Regions from separate parts of the Homo sapiens genome. Here regions 1, 3, 4, 5, 6 and 7 are each linked to region 2. Evidence: promoter capture Hi-C in 16 types of primary human blood cells and fetal thymus (Javierre and others, 2016). All regions are on one chromosome and are shown on one strand. The core of a region is centred on a gene start or on the middle of the fragment in contact, and the rest is flanking DNA. Distances in the headings are between cores, read along the strand shown.

Evidence for each region. Contacts are between HindIII fragments. The CHiCAGO score rates a contact against its expected background, and 5 or more counts as called.
Region 1: a contact is called between a fragment that was not itself captured here and the fragment with the promoter of PTGER2 in region 2, in 1 of 17 cell types (megakaryocytes). The highest score is 5.7, in megakaryocytes.
Region 3: a contact is called between a fragment that was not itself captured here and the fragment with the promoter of PTGER2 in region 2, in 3 of 17 cell types (megakaryocytes, monocytes and total B cells). The highest score is 5.7, in megakaryocytes.
Region 4: a contact is called between a fragment that was not itself captured here and the fragment with the promoter of PTGER2 in region 2, in 1 of 17 cell types (megakaryocytes). The highest score is 7.2, in megakaryocytes.
Region 5: a fragment that was not itself captured here is called in contact with the fragment with the promoter of PTGER2 in region 2 in 1 of 17 cell types (megakaryocytes); the score reaches 5.5 in megakaryocytes.
Region 6: a contact is called between the fragment with the promoter of PSMC6 here and the fragment with the promoter of PTGER2 in region 2, in 12 of 17 cell types (megakaryocytes, monocytes, naive CD8 T cells and 9 more). The highest score is 11.0, in megakaryocytes.
Region 7: a contact is called between a fragment that was not itself captured here and the fragment with the promoter of PTGER2 in region 2, in 2 of 17 cell types (megakaryocytes and total CD8 T cells). The highest score is 6.1, in megakaryocytes.

What each region holds. Positions count from the first base shown.
Region 1 is chr14:52,813,857-52,817,394 of GRCh38, reverse strand. All of the region lies in intron 1 of LOC105370500 (a long non-coding RNA gene), which reads right to left. Among named protein-coding and RNA genes, the nearest start is that of GNPNAT1, 24 kb to the right of the region's middle. The HindIII fragment of the contact is 645 bases long and covers 1,777-2,421 here.
Region 2 is chr14:52,312,780-52,316,021 of GRCh38, reverse strand. PTGER2 (prostaglandin E receptor 2) reads right to left here and starts at 1,710. Exons shown (of 2, transcript NM_000956.4): 1 at 631-1,710. The coding sequence starts at 1,473. RefSeq lists enhancers at 816-955, 976-1,125, 1,360-1,919, 1,920-2,480 and a silencer at 1,646-1,755. The HindIII fragment of the contact is 17,361 bases long and covers 1-3,242 here.
Region 3 is chr14:52,743,426-52,746,886 of GRCh38, reverse strand. It overlaps STYX (serine/threonine/tyrosine interacting protein), which reads right to left. Exons shown (of 11, transcript NM_145251.4): 2 at 2,003-2,035; 3 at 408-461. Among named protein-coding and RNA genes, the nearest start is that of STYX, 15 kb to the right of the region's middle. The HindIII fragment of the contact is 1,326 bases long and covers 894-2,219 here.
Region 4 is chr14:52,722,297-52,725,763 of GRCh38, reverse strand. It overlaps PSMC6 (proteasome 26S subunit, ATPase 6), which reads right to left. Exons shown (of 14, transcript NM_002806.5): 13 at 1,728-1,799. Among named protein-coding and RNA genes, the nearest start is that of STYX, 6.1 kb to the left of the region's middle. The HindIII fragment of the contact is 818 bases long and covers 1,782-2,599 here.
Region 5 is chr14:52,764,685-52,768,150 of GRCh38, reverse strand. All of the region lies in intron 9 of STYX (serine/threonine/tyrosine interacting protein), which reads right to left. Among named protein-coding and RNA genes, the nearest start is that of GNPNAT1, 25 kb to the left of the region's middle. The HindIII fragment of the contact is 4,705 bases long and covers 1-3,466 here.
Region 6 is chr14:52,705,170-52,708,770 of GRCh38, reverse strand. It overlaps PSMC6 (proteasome 26S subunit, ATPase 6), which reads right to left and starts at 1,571. Exons shown (of 14, transcript NM_002806.5): 1 at 1,467-1,571; 2 at 383-462; 3 at 249-288; 4 at 1-7. The coding sequence starts at 1,551. RefSeq lists enhancers at 1,211-1,260, 1,281-1,530, 1,831-1,890, 1,911-2,020. The HindIII fragment of the contact is 4,351 bases long and covers 1-2,272 here.
Region 7 is chr14:52,666,297-52,669,677 of GRCh38, reverse strand. ERO1A (endoplasmic reticulum oxidoreductase 1 alpha) reads left to right here. Exons shown (of 16, transcript NM_014584.3): 7 at 3,183-3,303. Among named protein-coding and RNA genes, the nearest start is that of ERO1A, 28 kb to the left of the region's middle. The HindIII fragment of the contact is 170 bases long and covers 1,710-1,879 here.

The sequences.
Region 1 (3,538 bases), core at 850-3,349, 500 kb before region 2:
AGGACTCACAGAGATTATTAACAGAAGGAACAGTCTAGATAGTCCGAGATGCAGAAAGGAGGTAGCAAATAGGTGAATGTTGATTATATAAAATAAAAACAATGATTTATGGTGTAAAATTTGAAAAGACAATTAAAATACACTGCAACAATAATATAGATCAGGAGGAAGGTAAATGGAGTTGAAGTGTTCTAAGGTTCTTAGACCAAAGGTAAAGTATTGCTTAGCTACAGACTTTGATAAGTTAACATGCACGTTGAAACTTCTAGTAACCCCTAAAGAACAGAAACAGTGTGCTTATAAAATCCAAAGGGGAAAACATGTAATGATTATTCCAGAAACCTCAATCAATTCAAAAGAATTCAATAAAGAAGGGAAAAAGAAATTGAACAAATAGAAATCCTGGATGGCTTACTAAGCAAATTTTATCAAATATTCAAGAAATAAATAATTCCTAATTGTTTCAAGGGATAGCATAGCATGTTAGTGCAAAACTTACAAGAAAAGGAGAAAAGATAATTATCCACCAATCTCATTCGCAAACATATATATAAAAATCGTAAGCAAAATAATAGCAAATCAAATCAAGCAATGTATAAAAAAAGGAAAATATGATGTAACCAAGTTGGGTTTATTTTAGAAGCACAGATTGGCTTCACTTTTTTAAAAAAACAGTAATTCACTACATTAACATATTGAAGTGAAAAATCATACAAGTATCTCAATAAATACAGAAAAAAGCATTTAATAAAATTCAGTATCTATTTATGACTTCAAAAAATCTTAGCTAAAAAGAAATAGATTTTTTTTTTCTTTTGACACAGGGTCTTTCTCTGTCACCCAGGTTGGAATACAGGGGCACACTCTTGGCTCATTGCAGCCTCAATCTCCCAGGCTCAAGGAATCCTCCCACCTCAATCTCCCAAGTAGGGGGGACTACGGGAGCAGGCCACCACACCTGGCTAATTTTTTTTTTGTTTTGTTTTTTTGTAGAGACAGGTTTGCCATGTGGCCTAGGCTGGTCTTGAACTCCTGAGCTCAAGCAATCCACCCACCTCCACTTCCCAAAATGCTGCGATTACAGGCGTAAGCCATTGTGCCTGGCCTGAAATAAATAGACTCTTACCCAATGAAATAGGGCAAGGAGGCCAGGCGCAGTGGCTCAAGCCTGTAATCCCAGCACTTTGGGAGGCCAAGGCGGGTGGATCACGAGGTCAGGAGATTGAAACCATCCTGGCTAACAGTGAAACCCCGTCTCTACTAAAAATACAAAAACAATTAGCCGGGCGTGGTGGCGGGCACCTGTAGTCCCAGCTACTCGGGAGGCTGAGGCAGGAGAATGGTGTGAACCTGGGAGGCAGAGCTTGCAGTGAGAGAAGATCGCGCCACTGCACTCCAGCCTGGACAACAGAGCAAGACTCCGTCTCAAAAAAGAAAAAATAAAATTAATGAATTAAAAATTAAAAAAAAGAAATATGGTAAGAAAAAATATGTAAGGATTGGAAATAAAGAAACAAAGCTATCGTTATTCTAAAATGATATTTATAATCCAAAATAATACACTATCAACAAGGTTACTGGATAGAAAAATCAATATACACAATTAATTTTTTTCTTTATACTGGCAATTAGTAGGTAGAAAATAAAATTTTAGAATGATACAATTTCTAATGGCATAAAAGCATGAAGATGTGGAAATAAATCTAAAACTAGCTGCGTAAGACATACATGGAGAGATCAAATAAGACCTAAATAAATATACAGGGGCTGTAAGCTTCCTCATTGTAAAGATGCTGAGCTCCACTACTGACCATGAAGTAACTGGTACAGAACATCCTCTCCTATGGTAAACAACAAGAAAACTGGACCAAAGATATGAAACAACTGTTTTCTCATACTGTGACAACAGGCAGGGAAAGACTGAACTTTAAGAGAGGGAAAACAAGATGAACCTTTCAATTGCCCCAGCTTCTTATCTAGGGACAACTTTGAGCTTAGAGGACAGGGAAGAAAAACCTAAAGAAAGCACAATGGCGTCATTAAATTAAGGAGCTAGAGACTGGATCTGTGGGATGTGAGAGAGCTGGAATCTGTAGGGTAAAGTACCAGAGAGGAGGAAGCTACACAGAGAAAGAGCTCCCGAAATTGACACAGGGGTCTTCTTAGGTCTCTGGCTGAATAACCAGTCTGCATATTCATAGAGTGAAACTCCACACACTGGGCAAAGAACAATTGCCAGAGGCTAGAAACTGAACAATTCTCAGAGCACAGAGGACTAAGAGGTGCTCAAATCCTACTGAGCCAGAGAGACCTCACTGAGCCATAGGGCAATCAATAAAAACCCCAGAAGGATCAGGGCTTAAAATAAAAGCTAAACTAGCCCTACAGTAAAGGCTATTCTAGACACACTCTAACGAAGCTTAGAGGCAAATAAAAAAAAGATCTGATTTCATCTAAAGTCACTTCCACAGCTTGATCTTTTTAAAGTTCTTACACTTTTTTATTTATTTATTTTTTAAGACAGAGTTTTGCTCTTGTTGCCCAGGCTGGAGTGCAATGGCACGATCTCAGCTCACTGCAACCTCTTTCTCTCAGATTCAAGCAATTCTCCTGCCTCAGCCTCCCGAGTAGCTAGGATTACAGGCATGCACCACCACACCCAGCTAATTTTGTATTTTTAGTAGAGACGGGGTTTCTCTATGTTGGTTAGGCTGGTCTCGAACCCCCAACCTCAGGTGATCCACCCGCTTCAGCCTCCCAAAGTGCTGGGATTACACGCATGAGCCACCGTGCCTGGCCATTCTTATACTTTTTATTTTCTTTATTGGATTCTATAATAATATACTCAATTACTTTCTATTGTCTTCCCTATGTTGTACCAACCTCCAAAACTAAATATAAAACAAGAAAACTATTTTGAAGGAAAAAGCATGTTTTATCACAAGCCATTATTGCTAATGTTTATGTGGGACACCTGTTTTACAGTAACAAAACAAGGTTTAACTGAATTCTTTCAGTCTTCTTAAAAGGTATAGCTCAAAACAATAATATAGAAAAGTTGAAAACAGTAAGGAAGAGAATAGCAGGCAAATACTCAACAAAAAAAAGGTAGCATAGATCTATTAATATAAGAAAAAAGCAATATTTTAAGGCAAAAGCATTACTAGAGATAAAAGCGTCACTAGATATGATAAAAATAATCCAAATCCAAGAAAGAGAGGAATTAGAGACAAATCCCACAATCATAATGAGAGATGTTAACATCTATTTCTTAGTGATAGGTCAAGCAGACAAAAAGATAAAATCAGCTGGGCAGGTGGCTCACGCCTGTAATCCCAGTGTTTTGGGAGGCCAAGGTGGGAGGATCAGTTGAACCCAGGAGTTTGAGGCTGCAGTGAGCTATGATCATGCCACTGTACTCCAGCCTGGGCGACAGAGTCAGACCCTGTCTTAAATACATATATACTTACATAATACATAAAATCAACAAGGATATAGAAAAACAATATTTTTTAAAGCCAATTCTTCTCAAATTGAT
Region 2 (3,242 bases), core at 461-2,960:
TTACATTCAAATATATAAATTGGGAAACCTATAAACTAGATGTTTGTTGGACTTTTAGGACAAATAACAAATGCTCTAAACTTCTGCTTCAGGGACCCTTCTCATCTGGGACCATTTTCAATGGCAGCTGGAATGCTATGGGTTGGGTACTACATTTTGCCCTGGCAGGAACAGAAGGCAAGCATGGAGAACCAGCACCAGTGGATGAGAGGTACAGGGCAGCAAACTGCAGCTCCAGGTCGTCAGGCTGGAACAGTGACAGCCATCCTAAGGTGGAAGGGGCTGCCTCTTTCTCAATTACTAAGCCAAGATAGGCAACAGCGAGAAAGGGACACTGCCCAGGGCTAGGATGAGGAGATTGGCTAGCTTAGCTGAGGCCCAGGACTCCCTTTCGGACGGTCTGTATTATTGTATAAGAAACTCTAGCCTAGCAACGCCCATAAGCCAGGATAAGGAAGTGGGCTAAAGAGGAGGGGAAACTAGTGGGGAAGGCTACAGATCTTTACAAATTAGGACATATTTTTACAAGTTGCAAAAAGTTTGTAGGGCGGTGGAAAGGGTGGAGGCGTCAGGGGAGAGCATGAGAAGGCTGAGCAGAGCCGGGCTGTGGAAACGTAGGGAGTGACTTACCGTGAAAGGCAAGGAGCAGACGGCGAAGGTGATGGTCATGATAGCCAGGAGAATGAGGTGGTCCGTCTCCTCCGCCATGGACACCCTTTCCCCTCTCCTGCGGGCCCCGGGGCCGCCCCGGCCACTGCCCAGGGAAGGTCCGCAGCGGCTTCTCCGGCTTCGGCGGTGCATGCGGATGAGGTTGAGAATGACACTGAAGTTGCAGGCGAGCACCGAGACAATGAGAAGCAGCAGCAGGGTGGCGTACAGCTGCAGGTAAGCGGTCCGCCCGTGCCGGATGAAGCACCAGGTCCCGGGGCAGTACTGGACGTACTGCCCATAGTCCAGCAGCGGCAGCGAGCAGAAGAGCAGGGAGACTGCATAGATGACAGGCAGCACGGCCAGGCCCCCGGAGCGCGAGACGCGGCGCTGGTAGAAGTAGGGGTGCCCGATCGAGAGGTAGCGCTCCAGGGCCATGGCGAAGAGCATGAGCATCGTGGCCAGGCTGAAGAAGGTCATGGCGAAAGCGAAGTAGGTGCACGCGCGGCTCTCGGGCGCCAGTGCCACCAGGGTCTGGTTCCGCGCGTACGAAGCCAGTACCACTGGGCTGATGAGGCAGGTCCCGAGCAGGTCGGTGAACACCAGCTCGGTCACCAGCACGTGGAACAAGGAGAGGGAGCTCCTGCGGCCGGCGCTGCACCCCACGTCCCCCCGCCAGCGGCGCGCCAGCAGCGCCAGTGCTATGAGGTTCCCCAGCACCCCGGCCGAGAACATGACGGAGCTGATGGCTGGGCTTTCGCCTGGGGGAAGCCACTGTCGCGTCTCGCAGTCCTCAGACTGGGAGTCATTGGAGGCATTGCCCATGGTGGGGTGCCTGGAAAAGAGATGCGCCCTCCTCTCCCGGCCTTTACCTGGGAGGAAGAGGGTCTGAGAGCCGGAGCGTTCCGAGACTCAGAGGAAAAAGGGGAGGGACCGAAATCCAGAGCCCCCTTCCCGCACCCAGCGCGCCGACGGCGGCTTGCCCTGGGTCTCCCGCCGCGCGCCGAGTGGCGGCTCGGCTGCTGCATCCGAGCGGCGCTCGAGGCTCCCGCGCCTACCCGCGCCGGCCAAGGCCGGGAGCCAGAGCCTAGGGGAGCCGTCGTCTCCGCCCCCGCACTGTCGGGGGGCGGGCCCAAGAGTGCTGGCCAGGCCTTGCAAGTGCGAGTGTCCGCGAGCTGCAGGGGAGGCAGGACGCGTCACACTCGCGGGGGCGTTCCGAGTCCCTGGGGCGCGCCGGCGGGGAGGGAGAGAAGGAGTCTGAGCACCCGCTGGGCGCGGCACTGGGCAGAGGCGCGCGTGTTGCCGGTGTACTGAAGCTGCCCGCGACCGGCGGGAGCGGCGTTTCTCGCTTCCTCGGGGTCCGGTACTCGAAGCGCACGGCAGTCTGACCTCGGCTGGGAAGCGTTAAGCCCCAGCAGAGGGCTGGGAGGGAGTGCAGGAGCACTTGCGGGGTCTGCGCAGAATACACAGAAGATCGGGGCAACGAGCAAAGCAAAGCAACTCACCAAACAATGAAGTTAGGAGAACCCAATCCCGTGAAATGAGCGGAACAAGGGAATAACAGTGCAAAGGCAGCTTGAAGTAAGACCAGAATGTTTTGCTTTGTTTTTACTATTCCCAGGAAGATACACTAAGAGGTTGGGACAAAAATTGGGATGAAGCGTAAAGCAAGTGTGTCCATCCAAGGAACCAAACCACACAATGCGCACCACCGAGCGGCCTGTTGCACTGCCGCTTTGATTCGGTTACTAGCATTTCACCGTTTCCTATGTCAACAGCATAACGGATAACCACTTGTTTAAGCAACCATTAAAAAAAGAGGAGTGTGTCTTATACAGAATTGTGTTTGTGGATACAACATGAAAACCATTGCACATCACTGTTCTGTCCTTAAGCTGAGCCTTGTAAGAAAATGTTGATATTTTGTTTAGCCGTTTATCTTTACATGTTGTTAACCACGTAGTATCCATCCAGAAAGACTTGTTCCTGGCAAAGTGTATTGGTAAGTGGCCAGTTTCAGACTGGAGCTGACAGTAATGGTTTCCTACCACATATTGTCATAATTGCAGAGTCGTGAAAATGGGCTGATATTTAACACAAAACAAAACAAAACAAAATCCAGTTTGGCAGACAACATAGGTAATTGTGTTCTGTAAGAAGTCACATTCACTTGGGGAAGGGAGGCCAACTGGGAAGTGAAGGGTCTGATCTGCCTAGGGAACTGGCAAGAAAGACAGTCATAACGTGGGAGGAAGCAAAGATTGCCTGCTGAAGAGCCTATCTTGCTACAGCCTGCTTACTCTCCATGAATATTTTTTGCCAACTTTGATGATTCTGGCCTGGGGATTGGAATGCGGAGTTGGGGGGGGTGGTTCCCACTAGAACAAGCATAATTTACTGGATCGCTTGCAAAGTTTACAGGCCGGTTTTCACATGTCAGCAGGCACTACTTCAATCCCTAAACTTCTCATGGCATGGATTCCTAGGAAAGAGGATCTTAACTCCTACAGTTTTTCTTTCAAGCTGTAAACTCTGCAGGTCAGTAACAACTTATTACCAATCTTTGCCATCCATCTCTGACTATTCCCCTACTC
Region 3 (3,461 bases), core at 307-2,806, 430 kb before region 2:
ATTAACACACACAGTCTTACCCTTGATAAGGAAGGTTTAACTAAACATTGAAATTCCTTATTTTGGGCTTTAACTACATCTCATATTGTTCTGAAGCTATGATTAGCAATTACAGATGTCTAGTGTTTTAGAGAGTAAATAAGTTATTAAAGGTCAGTTATTTGGTAAATCTTTCAAACATACAAATTTCATGAGGAAAAAACAAAAACTCTGATTTGTGGTGAAACACTTGAGAACTACTGGTCTAGTAAAATAGGGAAAGAGGAAGGTACTCCAGAGTGACAATTACTGTTAACAGACAGTATTTGTGGATGCTCCCTAAAATAAAACTCTTTATTACTAAAAAACTTACCCAAGAAAAGTTGGTTAATAAAAGTCTCTCTTGATGAATCTAACAAAGTTCATACCTTGCTTTTCATAGCAGATGAATATGGGCCTAAGAACAATCCAGGTAAAATTTCCTAGAAAAAAAAAAATTTGAGGTATTTACCATCAGCAATTTAAATCTATAAGGCTATATAAATAAGACAAACCTTATTTGGCCAAATCAAAAGCAGCACAAGATACAACAAGATTGGAACTATTATCTATTTTTTTAATCTTTTTTTTTTTCTTTAAAAAATAGAGACGAAGTCTCACTATGTTGCCCAGGCTGATAAGGAACTCCTGGGCTCTAGTGATCCTTCTGCCTCAGCCTCCCAAACGGCTGGAATTACAGACATGAACTCCTGTGCCTGACCTAAAACTATTATCTATAGTTAATAGAAGCAAATTATTACTGTAACATAAAAATTCCAAATTCAAATATTTGCCAGTTGACAAAATTTCAACAAGTATGTACCTTCCAGATGTTGAATTCAAATTTATTTTATGTAAATTCAATACAGAAAGCTTTCAGTCTGGATATATCATACCCTAGATACTAACAGTAACTTTATAGTTCAGTTCTATAAGTCATAATTATTTGTATATAAAACTGATTTCTTCCACCAGGCTTTTGTGGGCAGAAATTACATTTAGTCATCTTTGCATTCCTCCTAACACCAAGTAAAATGCCTCATAGGTACTCACCTATTTTTTCAAAGTGAACTTTCATTAAGAGAGAAAAGTAACAGATTTTTAGAAGTCATGGGATTCCCAGGAACAAGATACTGCTTAATCCTGGGGCAAACAGACTTGACGGTAAATGGTATGAAATGCAAAAGAAAATGAACTGCTATGAGGGTTAGCTATCGTTTAATTCATTCCAAACTGAAAGTATTCAATTTGATCTTCTAGAAGACTTAATTGTGGAAGTTGATTAAAAATCGGACACAAAATGAACAATGCTTATTTGCTGTACAGACAACTCTCCCTAACTTATCTAGACAAACAGAGAAAGCAAACTGCTTTCAAAAGGAATACAAAGAAAGTATCCAATTTTTCACGTGAGGAAAAAGAAAGTGACTCATTGGCCAGGCACGGTGGCTCATGCCTGTAATCCCAGCACTTTGGGAGGCCAAGGTGGGTGGATCACCTGAGGTCACTGGATCACCTGAGGTCAGGAGTGTGAGACCAGCCTGAACAAGGAGAAACCCTGTCTCTACTAAAAATACAAAATTAGCTGGGTGTGGTGGCGCATGCCTGTAATCCCAGCTACTCGGGAGGCTGAGGCAGGAGAATCACTTGAACCCGGGAGGTGGACGTTGCGGTGAGCCGAGATCGTGCCATTGCACTCTAGCCTGGGCAACAAGAGCGAAACTCTGTTTCAAAAAAAAAAAAAACAAAAAAAAAACCAAGAGAAAGTGACTCATTAAGCACATACACCTATTACTACGTTCCTCTTTCTAATTTCCCATCGTTTTAAGATCCAAGATTAACCTTAAATATTTAAAATAATTATTTAAAATACATAATGATGAACCTACAGATCATGAAATCAGCAGGTCTCAAATCCTATAAACTAAGGTTCTTATTATGATAATAACATGGGTTGGTTTGAACAAAGAAAAGGTTGCCATACCTGCATCTCTCGTCTCATAGGGTAGGTCCACTCCTGGGAAGGAAAACATAAGAATAAAAGTAGATAACATTTAAAAAGTCACCCAATTAAAGGCTAAAGATGTGACACACAAGTATGTAGATTTTTTAAAGTTACATTATACTTTAAGAACATTTTATTAAAATAGCAGACTTGGTTTCACAAACATCTGAAAATTGAAGTGACAAGAAACAAAGCTTAAAGCATTCTTTAAATAACTAGGCTTCCAGAATTGTTATGTTACTTCATAAAATGGATGAAATTACTCATTAAACTTAAGAATAGAATAGATATTCCAGAAGATTCTCCCAAAACTGATCTTCTAAGTCAGAGATGCCAATAGATTTTTTTTGTTTCTCATGCCAACTCTAATCAACTGACAGCAGATACCTAAAACACTGTGTGGTCCAAGACAGGAAGAAGAGTGTCTGATCAACAAATAATATCTGAAATGGATAAAAGAAGAATGCTATGTCATACGTACTTGCCATCTCTGATCTAAAATGCCAAATGCTTATCAAAGAGCCTTTCCTTCATCTCACTTGGGCCTAACATTCTTGTCTAGTTCAATTATTTTAACACATATCACAAAACATAAGAGACTTCATTTTGTCTTTGGAATGCAGACCAATATAAAGAAGCTGTAAAACAACACAAAATGTCAATGGTAAAAGATAAAAAATATTTTAAAACTTAGAAAAAAAGTATAGTGAATTGAAATGAAGAATCGAAATAGACTAAAAGGCCAGGCTCTGTGGCTCATGTCTGTAATCCCAGCACTTTGGGATGCCGAGGCAGGCAGATTGCTTGAGCTCAGGAGTTTGAGACCAGCCTGGGAAACAGGGTGAAACCCCTTCTCTACTAAAAATACAAAAAAATTCGTTGGGCATGGTGGAGCCTGCCTGTAATCCCATCTACACAGGAGGCTGAGGTGGGAAGATCGCTTGAGCCTGGGAGGCAGAGGTTGCAATGAGCTGAGATCACCCCACCACTCCAGCTAGGGTGACAGACTGAGACCCCGTCTAAAAAAATACTATAGTACAGATAGTCCTCATTTGTCAGTGGGTTGACTGCATTCCAAAAGTTTCTAAGTTGGTTGCTTAAAACTCAGAATTATTATTAGTAATTAGGTTTCTGAAGTAGTCTGGAAAATATTTTTTTAACCTTTTATTTTGAAACAATTTTAGGATTATAGAAAAGTTGCAAAAATAGTACAAGGAATTCCATTTACCCTTCACCCAGATTCTCTAAGTCAGAAAAGTATTTTTTTTATTTTTTTATTTTTTGAGACCGAGTCTTACACTGTCATCCAGGTTGGAGTGCAGTGGCGCGATCTCGGCTCAATGCAAGCTCCGTCTCCCGGGTTCACACCATTCTCCTGCCTCAGCCTCCCGAGTAGCTGGGACTACAGGCACCCACCACCACGCCATAATTTTTTTGT
Region 4 (3,467 bases), core at 941-3,440, 410 kb before region 2:
GTGGGTGGATTACTTGGGCCCAGGAATTTGAGACCAGCCTGGACAACATGGTGAAACCCGTCTCTACAAAAAATACAAAAATTAGCTGGGTGTGGTGGCGCACGCCTATAGTCCCAGCTACTGGAAGATAAAGGAGAAATGATCAGGTCTGGGCTACAGGGAGCAGTGATCATGCCACTGCACTCCAGCCTGGGCCAGAGTGAGACTCCGTCTCAAAAGAAAAAATAAAATAGAGATGTATTATAATCCAAAAGAGATAATGTCAGGACCTGAACAGGAAGGGCAACTGTAGTTGAATCAAGTGTATTTTAACTTACGAAAAATGTTAACAAAAAAGCCTTCAAGTCTAAAAAGAAGATAAAAATTTCAGTATGTTTCCAGATGTGAATGTCCCACCTAGTTAAAAAAGAACTACAATTTTAATCCACACAGAAGTTATAGCTCATTTGCAATAACTAAAGGTAAATTTGTAAGAATATGTAAGGAAAAAAAGCGTATATTTTGATAGCAACAGCCTTTAGGTTCACTGCACAGCTTGCATTTGGATTACAATCTAACCAAAGCAATCTTCTGATAATAATTTGGTCTGGTTTACATTTTGGAAAGAGAATGTCATAAATTACTCTAACTTGTTCAAGCTATATGACAGTTTACCTCTAAATAGTTTAGTTTATTGATAACGCTCTGTGAGCATGATTTACCCTAATTTGCATTGACAGCATTTCTAGACGTGAACAGAAGTATCTGACCTGCATATCTGATGCAGATACTGACTCACAGCATACCCAATACCCATGAAGATACCTGTACTGAGAAGCCCTCCCTGAGCAGCCACTTTAAACACTGTGTTGAATTTACTAAGGCTAAACATGATATGAAAAGCAAGAGGAAATCACATATTCTAATACTTAAGAAAATCTATAACCTATAAAGTCAGTAACTATACTGTAGAAGTTTATTTTTTCTATTTAAAGATTCTGTATGGAAGACAAAAACTAAATGATTCTAGGTAGGGTATTAAAGCTACTTGGTACTGGAAATAAAAATAGCATCACACAATTTTTACATACCATGTAGAAGTGAAAAAAATAGTATCACACAATCCACAGAGAATTATATTTAAATACTACATTTTACACAAATGGCATGATCACATAATTCATAAATCAATCTTTCAAAACACTGCTCACAGACTAGTATTAGACAACATACACAATTCATTTTGCAGCAGATACCTCTGGTGCTGGCCCATTCTAATTCCAGCCACAGGTGTGGTAGGCAATTCTGTAGCACCTCAGACTTACTTTAGGGGGCCAGTGTTCTATTACATGCCTCTCCTTCCACATTCTGCCCTAAGGCAGGTAGAAGTGCAAAGGAGTCAACACTACCAAGGACAAATCTCATCCAATGGGGGATGAGTACTGGTAAATCAATGTTCTAGTCTCCCAACTTTCAGCTGGGTGATCCTGGAAGGCATTCTGTATGCTTCTCTGAGATCTAACCTCCCTTTCCTACAGCACCTACCTCAATGGTGCACCCTCATATTAGCTTTCCCTCTTTCCATCTCACTTGCCCTGCTTCTCCTATTTCCTGGAATCGATTCCTAAAAGAACAGCATGAACCCAAATCCTTGCAAAGTCTATGCTCCGCTTTCAGATAAACTCAAAACAGTTTCAGCAAATTTTAAAAATCAAAATCAATAGTAAAACTGTACTTTAAACCCTTACCTGCTTCAGTACAAACATTTCTCAGATCTGCTCCATTAAAGCCATCCGAAAGCTTCACAATTGCTTCATAATCTGTTTAGAAAAAATACTGGAAATTAGTTTTAAAAATTAGACCTTTACTTGATTTATGCCCACATCGAAAATTTAAACTGAAGAGCTTACTTTGAGTTTGATCAGCTAGACATCAGCTCTGTTAACTTTCCACAATATTAATATCCAAAAACTAAGACTTCTGTTAAATAAACCAGCACCAAGAAGAATTAGACACACCCCTGAAACTTTAAAAACAGGAAATATCACCAAAATCTCAAAATATCTTAATCTATTTTTATACAGTGAAATAGCTATGCACATGTGAACTCCAGATACCTGTTAAGCTGTGACTCTTATCAAAACTGTAATCAAATCTTGGATTTGAATAAACCTATAACACTCAAAACCAATTATAACAATGGAATTTACTTTGTTTACTTTAATCATACAAGCCAAATATAAAGTATAGCAAAACTGAAATGTAATCATACATAATTGTATCACATGGAATTTTTAAATGCTACAGCATGCATTAGCTAGCTTCTCTGGTTTCTGTGCAAGATTCAAGTGGTGAAGTATCAGATCTATGGTAGCAGTAATAAAGTGAGTTCTCCATCCACCCACATAACAGACATGAATCAAAGAGCTATAGGATTGGGGTAGCAACAATGGATCTGATACAGAATAGGAAGAGAAGTAAGACAGCACAGGCTACTACAGTTTGAATAACTTTGATGATGCACCGTTTGGTCAGGCAATATAGGGCATGTCGTTCTCTATTTGAAATCACACATATATTCATGAATTGTCTTTAATCAGGTTTAAGTTCATTGTAAGCTTCCTGAGAGCAAGAATTCCCAAGGCTAGCACAGTATCTGGCATCTAGCAAGAGCTCAGTATTTGTGGAAGAAACCTATACATTGACATCCTTTGTTCAGTTCGGTCTTTCCAGCTCAAAACTCTCTAACAGGGGCAATGAAGATAGTGAAATTCAACAATCAGCTATTTGTCATTATTCTGGACCATTAACTTCTAAAGAGTTTTTAAGGCTGCCTGGAAATTATACTAGATTTCCCTAGTCTGGAGGTCAGCAAACTTTTTATGTAAAGGGCCAGAGAGTAAATACTGTATGCTTTGCAAGCCATATGGTTTCTGTTGTAACTATTCAACTCAGCTATTCCAGTAGGAAAGCAGCCATAGACAACAGATAAATGAGCATGCTTGGGTTACAACAAAACTTTGTGTGTTTCCAAAAACACAGGGCAGGCAGAATTTGGTTCACAAGCCATGTTTTACTGGCCTGCACCCTAGTCCAATCCCTCACTTCCATAGATAATGACTTTATACCTTCTCCTTTGTCCTCAAATCTCTAAGAACACTTCCCTATCTTCATTCTGAACGTGCATTCTACTTCACTGAGAAAACAGAAGCATTCAGAAAAAAACACTTCCACAAGTTCCTGCACTATCTAAGAACCTGTCATCATAAGCATCTATGTACTCTGCCTTTCCTCCAGTCTCATAAAAGTACACATATATATAGGGCCAATCCCTCTTCAAGGAAAGAACATTGCCAATTTCTCTTTCTCCTAGGTCATTCCCAGTAGCATTATTAAAAAAAAAAAAAAAAGGGCAGGGGGGTCATAAACTCTTCCATCTTATAGAAAACTCTGCCAACTCCTCATCGGCATTCCCCTTCTACTTCTTC
Region 5 (3,466 bases), core at 155-2,654, 450 kb before region 2:
ACTCCTCTGTGGGCCAGAGTAGGTACAGTTCATAGCTCGCTAAAAAAGGTGACCTAAAATAAAACCAACAAGCCCTTGCATGGTATGACAAAGTCAGGAAATATGAGTGGCCTATGGGAGAAGGTGGGACATATTAAGGAAAATGTGAACACCTACACCTGCCATTTTTTGCAAGCAGCAGGCTGTTTAAGTATGGTAAGGCGGAAGTGAAATTTGGTTGCATGTAGCCAAGCATCAGTTGATCTTGGATAGCTAAAAGTAAAGGCTAAATCAGCAATTCTAGCCTGGATATACATGAGAATCACCTGAGGCACTTTAAAACCTATATACCTAGGCCCCACTCTCACAGATTTTGATTTCATTGGCATGGGTAAGGATTCCCCAGGTGATTCTAATATGAATCAGTGTTTATCAATTTAAACAAAATAAACCTGTGATATAAGGAGCTCTGCTTCTTACTCACTGATTCATGCCACCAAAGGAACCTGGGAAAATTCAAGCTGTCAGCCTTCCCCAACCACTCCTCTGGCCCCTTTCCCACAATTTTATTCTTGGGTAAATAGCTGATCTAAGACGAATACCTCCAGTTCAAAGATGACCAATAATCAAGAAGGAACCAGTTAGGTCTTACTCAAAGATTTTGCAAGAAAAAACAAAACAAAACAAAACAAAAACAGAAAAGCAAGAGTATAACCAAATGTCATAAAGAAAATGCCATAAAACTTATACCATGAAGCAGATGAAAACTATGAACAAATTAATCAAAGAAAATATGGCAGTTATGGGATTGAATGTTTGCATTCCCCTCATAATTCATATGTTGAAGTCCAAACACTTAATGTGGGGACTTTGGCAGGTGATTAAGTTGGGATGAGGTCATGAGAGGACTGGCCCTATGATGAAATGAGTATCCTTCTAAGAACTATGCTCCCACCTCAAACCACTTACACTTATTCCTCTACCTCAAATGCTTTTCCCCAAATACGTGCATCTCTTTAGGTCTTTGCTCAAATATCACTTTTCAGTAAGCCCATTTCTGACCACCCTTCTAAAAATACAATTCTCGTCCCACCTTCCTTACATGGCCTTATTTTTCTTGGATTCATTACTTCTGGCCTACTACATTTTGTTTGTTGTCTGATTCTCCCACTAAATAAGTTTCGTGAGGTCAAGGATTATTGTCTGTTTTGTTCTCTGCTTTACTGTCAGTGCCTAACTAAAACAATGCCAAATAAATATTTAATGAAACAATGCAGCATGGGACATGGAAAACAAACGTGAGAAAAATCAAGTGGAAAAAAAAAAAAGAACAAAGCTGCAAATAATTACAGAGAAAATAGCAAATAACAAAGAAAAAAGGGAACATAAACTATACCGGGGTAAGGGGTATACTAAAAAGAAAAAGAAACAGAACAACCAAAAGGGTAAATACACAATAGAAGACAACTTTCCTGAAATCAGGGAAGGCTTGAATTTGCAAGTGGTAAGGGCACACTGTGACTCAGAAAAAAACTGATGTAGAGCAATCAACAAGATACATCTTGGCCGGATATAGTGGCTCATGCCTGTAATCCCAGCACCTTGTGAGGCCAAGGTGGGAGGATCGCTTGAGCCCAGGAGTTTGAGACCAACCTGGAAAATATGGCAAAACCCCATCTCTACCAAAAATAATTTAAAAAACTAAGCCAGGTGTGTGGTCTCACGTCGTAATCCCAGCACTTTGGGAGGCCGAGGCAGGCAGATCACCTGAGGTCAGCAGTTCCAGACCAGCCTGGCTTACATGGTGAAACCCTGTCTCTCTACAAAAAATACAAAAATTAGCTGAGTTTGGTGGCACATGCCTGTAATCCTGGCAACTTGGGAGACTGAGGCAGAAGAATCGCTTTAACCCAGGAGGCAGAGGTTGCAGTGAGCCAAGATTGCCCCATTGCACTCTAACTTGGGCAACAGAGTGAGACTTTGTCTCAAACAACAACAAACAAAAAACTTAGCCAGGTGTGATAGTGTGCACCCATGGTCCCAGCTACTTAGGAAGCTAGGGTGGGAAGATCACTTGAGCCCAGGAGGTCAAGGCTACAGTGAACCATGATCGCGCCACTGCACTGTAGCCTGGGTGACAGTGCGAGACCCCCTCAAAAAACAAAAACATAAAAAACCAGGATACACCTTGATAAAGCATCTTATGGTCATCTAGATGAGGGTCCCCACCCCTGGACTGCAGACCCCAGAATCGGTCCATCGCCTGTCAGGAACCAGGCCACACAGCAGGAGGTGAGTGGCACTCCAGGGAGCATTACCATCTGAGCACCACCTCCTCTCAGATCAACAGCAGCATTAGAGTCTCACAGGAGCGCAAACCCTATGGTAAACCTATCCCTCCCTATGGTATGCGAGGGATCTAGGTTGCACACTCCTTAACTAATGCCTGATGATCTGATATAGAACAGTTTTGTCCTGAAACCATCTCCCCCGCCACCCCATCCGTGGAAAAATTGTCTTTCATGAAACTGGTCCTTGGTGTGAAAAAGGTTGGAGACTGCTGATCTAGACAACCTTCTCCTGATACAAATCAATTCACCTAAGGGGGGAATCTTAAAATTGGTCTGCCTTCAAACTTCTCTAAAACAATATTTAGGCCAGGCACGGTGGCTCACACCTGTAATCCCAACACTTTGGGAGGCCGAGGAGGGCAGATCACCTGAGGTCGGAAGTTTGAGACCAGCCTAGCTAACATGGTGAAATTCCATCTCTTCTAAAAATATAAAATTAGCTGGGTGTGGTGGCATGTGCCTGTAATCCCAGCTAATCAGGAGGCTGAAGCGGAGAATCACTTGAACTCGGGAGGTGGAGATTGCAGTGAGCCTAGATTGTACCACTGCACTCATTCCAGCCTGGGCGACAGAGTGAGACTCCATCTCCAAAAAATAAAAAACAAACAAAAAATATTTAATATCAGGTCTGTGTACAAAATCACTAGGGAAAAAGTATTAAATACCTATTTTATATCTAGCCACTGTCATTCAAATATAAGGGCAAAAGAAAAATATTTTCCAATATGCAAAGGGATAGTTTCCATGGGAATATAGTTTCCATGAACTATTCTTAATAAAGTCCAAGAGTTTAATAAAGACACTGGAACAGGTAATAGGATTGGCTGAATCCTATTTAAATGTAGGATTAAGGGCTGGGCGCCGTGGCTCACGCCCGTAATCCCAGCACTTCGGGATGCTGAGGCGGGTGGATCACATGATCTCAGGAATTCGAGACCATCCTGGCCAACATGGCAAAACCCCGTCTCTACCAAAAATACAAAAATTAGCTGGATGTGGTGACATATGTCTGTAATCCCAGCTACTCGGGAGGCTGAGGTGTGTGAATCGCTTGAACCCAGGAGGCAAAGGTTGCAGTGAGCCGAGATCACACCACTGTACTCCAGCCTGGGCAAGAGTGTGAGACTCTAACTCAA
Region 6 (3,601 bases), core at 322-2,821, 390 kb before region 2:
ACAATGACTAGAAGAAAAAACATAAAAGAACTAATTGAAAAATAGAAAGTAAAAAAATACATACCCACGTTGACAGAGGGTTTAGTTGTATTTCTGTCCTCCAAGGAGACATTAGTTGAAGGAAAACTTAAGTCTATTCAAAAATACTCTCTCTCTCTGCATTATTGTCATTAAAATAATAAGCATTTCAAAAGTGAGAGAGAGGTGGACTGTTTCTTTACTAATTAATAAGCTAATTCATCACTCACATTTTTCTTCAGTTAACTGTTTAAGCACTTCACCCACGATCTAAGGAAGAAAATAAAAAGCATTACTTTTTGGCAACAGCTAAATAAAAAAGCAAATTACCATCACCCCCTATTCCCCAAACTCCATCACCTACCTGCCCAACACTCTGTAGGGCCTTCAGATCATTTTCAGACTTTTCATACTGCTTGGTAAGTTCTTTTAATTGTTCCCTTACTGAAATAATACAATTTGAACATTTTTAATTGAACAGTAATCTTAGTGTGTTTAAGTCGCTACGTCTCACTTTACTGTTTACGTAAGTCTACTTCACTTTACCTAAGTTTCACATCCACTGTTTCAAACCATAAAAGAAATAATGCTGTTTGTAATGAGTAGGTGGCATGTATAACAACAAAATGTTACAGAGAAAGCACCATACTTTTACTTTGTTGATCGGCAATACTTGTTTAAGCACATCTTAAGTTATAGTCTTAGAAGATATTGACACCCTGACACTTAGGATTTGCGACTACAAATCCGAATGATAATCACTTAGACCCTTCCTCACCTCTTCACCTACCCACGTGGATTGTTCTCTGACATTCTACCCTAAATAAAGTCAACAAATGCAGTTCTCCACAGAATCATGTAATTATGGTCCTCCATTTAATTAAACTACTCATGCTTTTCAATGAAAATGCACTGGAAAAAAAAGTTAAGCACTCAGGAGGTAAGGGAAATTTGTATGCCTGATACAGTACAACACGAAACACAAGACGATATGGGTTATTATGACAACTGGAACACTTCTCTCTTAAGCTCCGCGGCCGTCTTTCGACTCCAAGAACAAGCCGACTCCCTGAGTCTCATCTCTTGTTTGAGCTTACTTGACTCAAGCGCCTTCCCCTCTCCAAGTCCCGGGACTCCACCAAGACTGCCCTTCTTGCACCCTAACCTGGGAAACATCCTCGGCCCACTTCCCCACTCCTCCTCTACTTCTTTTTCATTTTCACCTCAAGGCCGCCGATGTTCTGTCACCCGGGCTGGACTGGGCCATTTCTACACCCGAAGGAGTGCTGCTCCACAAGCTCAGGGCCGGATGACAAAGCGCCTTGTCCCTGGCCCTAGGCCTGGTCATCTCTAAGGCTCGGTTGCCGGGCTCGGCGAAAGGCTTCTGCTTTGTCAGAGGCAGAAGCGAGTCGAGGCACTTGATTAAATGGAAAGAAAGGTGCACTCACACTCCTTAAGACGGCCGTCGATCTCCTTGTGTTCAAGCAACTTCTTGCGGTAGTCCTGAAGCGCCTTATCTCTAGGGTCCGCCATGATGAGAAGCCGTCTCTCATAGGGGATGCCGGGAATGGCCATGGCCGTCCGGGCGGGGGAAGGGGCGGGGCGAGGGGCGAAACCCTGCCTGGAGGGGTGGGTTCGCCCATGAGCCCTCCCCTTCCGGTTGGCCCCGTCTTTCTACTCCACTTCCACCTCTATGTCTCGGTTCACCTAGAGCGCCGGCATACACTGAAAGAGGCCTCCACCTATACCGTTTCTTGCAAGCCGAGATAGGTAAAGCAGGACTCAGTTATCCCGGTCTTCCCCTGAGAGGCCTCAGTATTAAGTCACTGCTGTCCCGGAAGTATAAAAGGCTCTGTAATAAACTGAGATGGAAGTGAAGTAGGAAATGTGTAATACCTCAAAGGAGTTCCGATGGCCTGTCGACACAACACAGATGGCCTTTGTTATAACACAGTACTGTCCAAGACCTCCACGTGCTGGAGAAGTAGACAGTTTTATTCATCCATTCAGTCAGTGAATGAGGTATTAAAGGTAGATCTGCTTATCATTTGATAGGAAATAATAATAAAAAAAACTTCAGAGTTTAACAAATACTGTGAAGGAATTAAAACACGGTGAGAAGTATGGTGGGAAGAATTAATCTAGAACAGATATCTGAGATGAGAAGGAGCCAGCCTTGCAACAACTGAAGAAAACCTAAACAAACAGTGCAAGTCCTGGAGTGGAGTGGGGTGGGGGTTGTGGGTAGAAAGCTTGACTCACTTCCAGGAACAGAAAGGAGGCCAATGAGACCAGTAGGGGGTGGGTTGTAGAGATGTGGGGTACAAGATAAAGATGCTGAAGTAGGCTGAGGCAGGAACTTTGAAGTCTGATAGAACCTTCAGATTTATGTATTTATTTATTTACTTTTGAGATGGAGTCTTGCTCCTGCCGCACAGGCTGGAGCGGTGACGCGATCTCAGCTCACTGCAACCTCCACCTCCCGGGTTCAAGCAATTCTCCTTCCTCAGCCTCCGGAGTAGCTGGCATTACAGGTGTGCGCCACCACAACCGGCTAATTTTTGTATTTTTAGTAGAGACGGGGTTTCGCCATGTTGGCCATGCTGGTCTCGAACTGCTGACTTCAGGTGATCCACCCTCCTCAGCCTCCCAAAGTGCTAGGATTACAGGTGTGAGGCACTGCGCCCGGCCAGATTTTTTTTTTTTTTTTTTTTTTTTTGAGTCTGTGTCTCACTCTGTCACCCAGGCTGCAGTGTAGTGGTGCGATCTTGGCTCACTGCAACCTCTGCCTCCCGGGTTCAAGCGATTGTCGTGCCTCACCCTCCTGAGAAGCTGGGATTACAGGCGCCCGCCACCACGCCCGGCTCATTTTTGTATTTTCAGTAGGAATGGGGTTTCACCATGTTGGCCAGGCTGGTCTCCAACTACTGACCTCAAGTGATCCGCCCGCCTCAGCCTCCCAAAGTGTTGGGATTACAGGCGTGAGCCACGACGCCTGGCCAACTTTCAGATTTTTGTGATTTGGGGAAAATTACATACTCCCTCAATATCTCTGTAAAATGATCATAATAATTGCACTTATCTAATGGGGTTGTCATGAGTATTAAATAGGATAATGTGCCTAAACACAACATCTGCCACATGGCATGTACTCAATAGTGTTCTTTTGAATAGATATTTATTTTAAGGGTAGTAATGACTCCAATTTTTGCATTACAGGTCCTCATTGCTATACCTCTTGCTATCATTGTTCCTGGGGACAATTAATTGTTGTCCAAAAAACATGAGTAAAATTCTCCAAATAGATTCCATTTGGTCTCACCTTATCCAATGGCCATGAATGTTTGAGTTTAAATATATACATCCTAAATATACAAATAAAGTACAAATTTTTGTAAATTAATGACCCAAAGTCACATAAAGGATGCCTTCAAATTTATTAGGAACAATTCTCATGGGTATTGTGTGAATATTCCATTCTATTTTTCTTTTTTTTTTTTTTTTTTTTTTTTTTTTTTGAGTTGGAGTCTTGCTCTGTCGCCAGGCTGGAGTGCAGTGGCGCGATCTCGGCTCACTGCAACCT
Region 7 (3,381 bases), core at 545-3,044, 350 kb before region 2:
TGAGTATATGTTTCACTGTAGAAATATTTACGTGTTTGAATAAAGATTGCTCCCCCAGGTCCAGCTGGAGTAATATGCGATATATGTTGCATGTACTGTATTACCTTTGTAAAATCTGGAAAGTTCATTCCAGCCGAGACACGCATGGTCCCAGGCATGTTGGATGAGGGGTATAGACCTATATCAAGATTTGGACTAGTGAAGGAAGGGGATAAGATGTTCTCCCAACTCCCTTATTTTGCCATCTTTTCTACAAGGATTTTTTTTTTACCTTAAATATTGTTGTGAGATAAAACTAAATTTATAGTATGCAGCTATAATTTTTTTTAGTCCTCCACTGTTAGAAAAAGGATGGTAATATTTTAACCTTAATTAACATCCTTTTGTGACTACAATGTGCAGCACCAGGTGAGAATCAATGATTCATTTCTTATATGGTAGAGTTTGGTGAATCACTTGCCCATTTGTATTAGTGTCTTCTGTTAAAAAAAGCTGAATATTTTAAAGAAAGCTTTAGCAGGAATAAATAATGGATGTAAATGGTACGTGAAATATAGAAAGTATTTTTAAAATCCTAATTGGAAATTTGAGCTTTTGTCAAAAACAGGTTCTATTCAGTGATAGAAAACAGCATATCATATAGGTTTTGCAGAACGCATGTTTTCTGCTTCTAGGGCTGGATATTGGCATTTTCCTATAAGGGCCAAATGGGCTCTTAAATGTCTTTTCTTAGATTTTACAAAACATGTTTGACTAGTTTTCTATGAAAAACTTCAGGTTCTATTCAGTGATAGGAACCAGCGCATCATAAAAATTCTTGGCACAAATATAATTATAGTAATATTTAATATAATTATAGTATTACTTCAAATATAATTGTATAATTATAATTATAATTATAGTATAATTATAAGATTTGTAATATAATAATATAGTAATATTTATTTTTTATAAGCTTGAAGAAGAATGAAGTATTTATAATAAGTAGAATTATGAGGCAACAAATGTTTATCTCTAGGTAGAATATTTAAAAATTTAATCATTTCTTGGTGGTTAGTTTTCTCAAAGTCCTGGATACTGACCGTTGTTTATGTATTTTATTTTATTTCATTTTTATTTTTATTTTTTTTCCGAGGCAGAGTTTCATTCTCGTTGCCCAGGCTGGAGTGCAATGGTGTGATCTCAGCTCACTGTAACCTCTGTCTCCCGGGTTCAAGCGATTCTCCTGCCTCAGCCTCCCGAGTAGCTGGGATTACAGGCATGCATCACCATGCCCGGCTAATTTTGTATTTTTAGTAGAGATGGGGTTTCTCCATGTTGGTCAGGCTGGTCTCGAACTCCTGACTTCATGTGATCCACCCGCCTCAGCCTCCCAAAGTTCTGGGATTACAGGCGTGAGCCACCATGCCTGGCCTGCTGTTTATATATTTTAAACATCAGGGTTTAAAAAATGAATTTATTATAATTTATATGTGGCACTTGCCTTTAGTATTAATTGAAATGAACAGTTATCCATTCCTGAACTAGATGATTCCATGCTAATTTGTTTTTTAAGTCCTTATATTTTGTTTTTCTAGTTATTTTAATTGCCACTTCTGCATTGAACTCTGCTATTTTAAGATGCCGTCATTGTACTGCTTCTAGAAGCAAATTTCCCCCTAATTTATGCTTCTAATATACTGTGAATTGGAGTAAAAAATAACCAAGCTTAGGGTTTTTTTTTGTTTTTGTGGTTTTTTTTTAATAATAAAAATAGGTATAGTTGAGAGCTTGATGGACTCTAAGCACTTTTGTGCTCATATTTTTGTTATTGACTTTGGTTGCATTGAGACCGTTTTTGTCCACTTTTTAATTCTTTGTTGGCTCATACTGTTAAGCTTTATATATGAATAAAGTATTATTATAGTACCAAATAATTTCCCAAAGCCACTGGAGGACTATGGCCCATCTTTTTTTGAGACACAGTCTCACTGTGTTGCCCAGGCTGGAGTGCCGTGGTGCAATCACGGCTCACTGCAGCCTGGACCTCCTGGGCTCAAGTGACTTTCCCACCTCAGCCTCCTGGGTAGCTGGGACCACAGGCACGTGCCATGATGCCTGGCTAATTTTTGTATTTTTTATTGATGCCTGGTGTTTCACCAGGTTGCCTGTGAATTTTAGAATCACTCCTGGGCTCAAGCAGTCTGCCCCCAGGCCTCCGAGAATGCTGGGATTACAGGCATGAACCATCGTGCCCACCCTGGGACCGACCATCTTTTTTGTTTTGAAGTTATAACACATTATAAATGATAAATAAGTAACAGGGTCTGGATTCTAGCCTGGGTGTTCTGGCTCCAGAGCCCATGCTCTGGCTGTTCTGTGATGTTGGATGTTTAGGTTGCTTCCAATTTTCCCTTTTATAAATAATGTTGACACAGAATCATGCTGCATTGTAACTTTTGCTTTTGGCCAGATTGGATCTGCTGGTGGTCATCTAAGAAGAAAGTATTTGGTAACACGCAGTGTACAATACTAACACTCCTTCATTTACTGTAGTTATTGATGAACTGCTGTGGTTAATGTGGAGGGAAATGTATGTTATATTCTTTGTCTGAATAGCTTATGATAATTGAATTACCATGTTTCTTTGATTCTAAAATTCACGTATTCCTATTTTTACAATTCCTAAATCATAATGTTTTTGTAGCCAGTGTGTACAATTAATGTGGCTGTGTGTGTTTCTCTCTCTTTTCCTTCCTTTCTTTTCTGAGACGGAGTCTCGCTCTGTCACCCAAGCTGGAGCACAGTGGCGCAATCTCGGCTCACTGCAACCTCCGCCTCCCGGGTTCAAGTGATTCTCCTGTTGCAGCCTCTCGAGTAGCTGGGACTACAGGCGTGCACCACCACGCCCGGCTAATTTTTGTATTTTTAGTAGAGACAGGGTTTCACTATGTTGGCCAGGCTGGATTCGAACTCCTGACCTCAAGTGATCCGCCCACCTTGGCCTCCCAAAGTGCTGGGATTACAGGTGTGAGGCACCACACCCGGCCTCCTTCCTTTGTTTCTCCTGAAAAGTTGTTTTAAAATTCCTGACACATTGTTATATTTGTGGTGCGTTAGAATCAATGGAATACAGTCTTGTGTAGTAGCTTTTTAAGGTAACTGAGGATAAGAAAGGTTTAATAAGACATTTTATTTTACAGACATTCAGTCCCCTGAAGCTGAATATGTAGATTTGCTTCTTAATCCTGAGCGCTACACTGGTTACAAGGGACCAGATGCTTGGAAAATATGGAATGTCATCTACGAAGAAAACTGTTTTAAGTATGTGTCATTTTCATTTAGAAAAATTCCTATAAGATGTGGTGATTTCTCTTTATAAACAAAATCATAATGATTTAA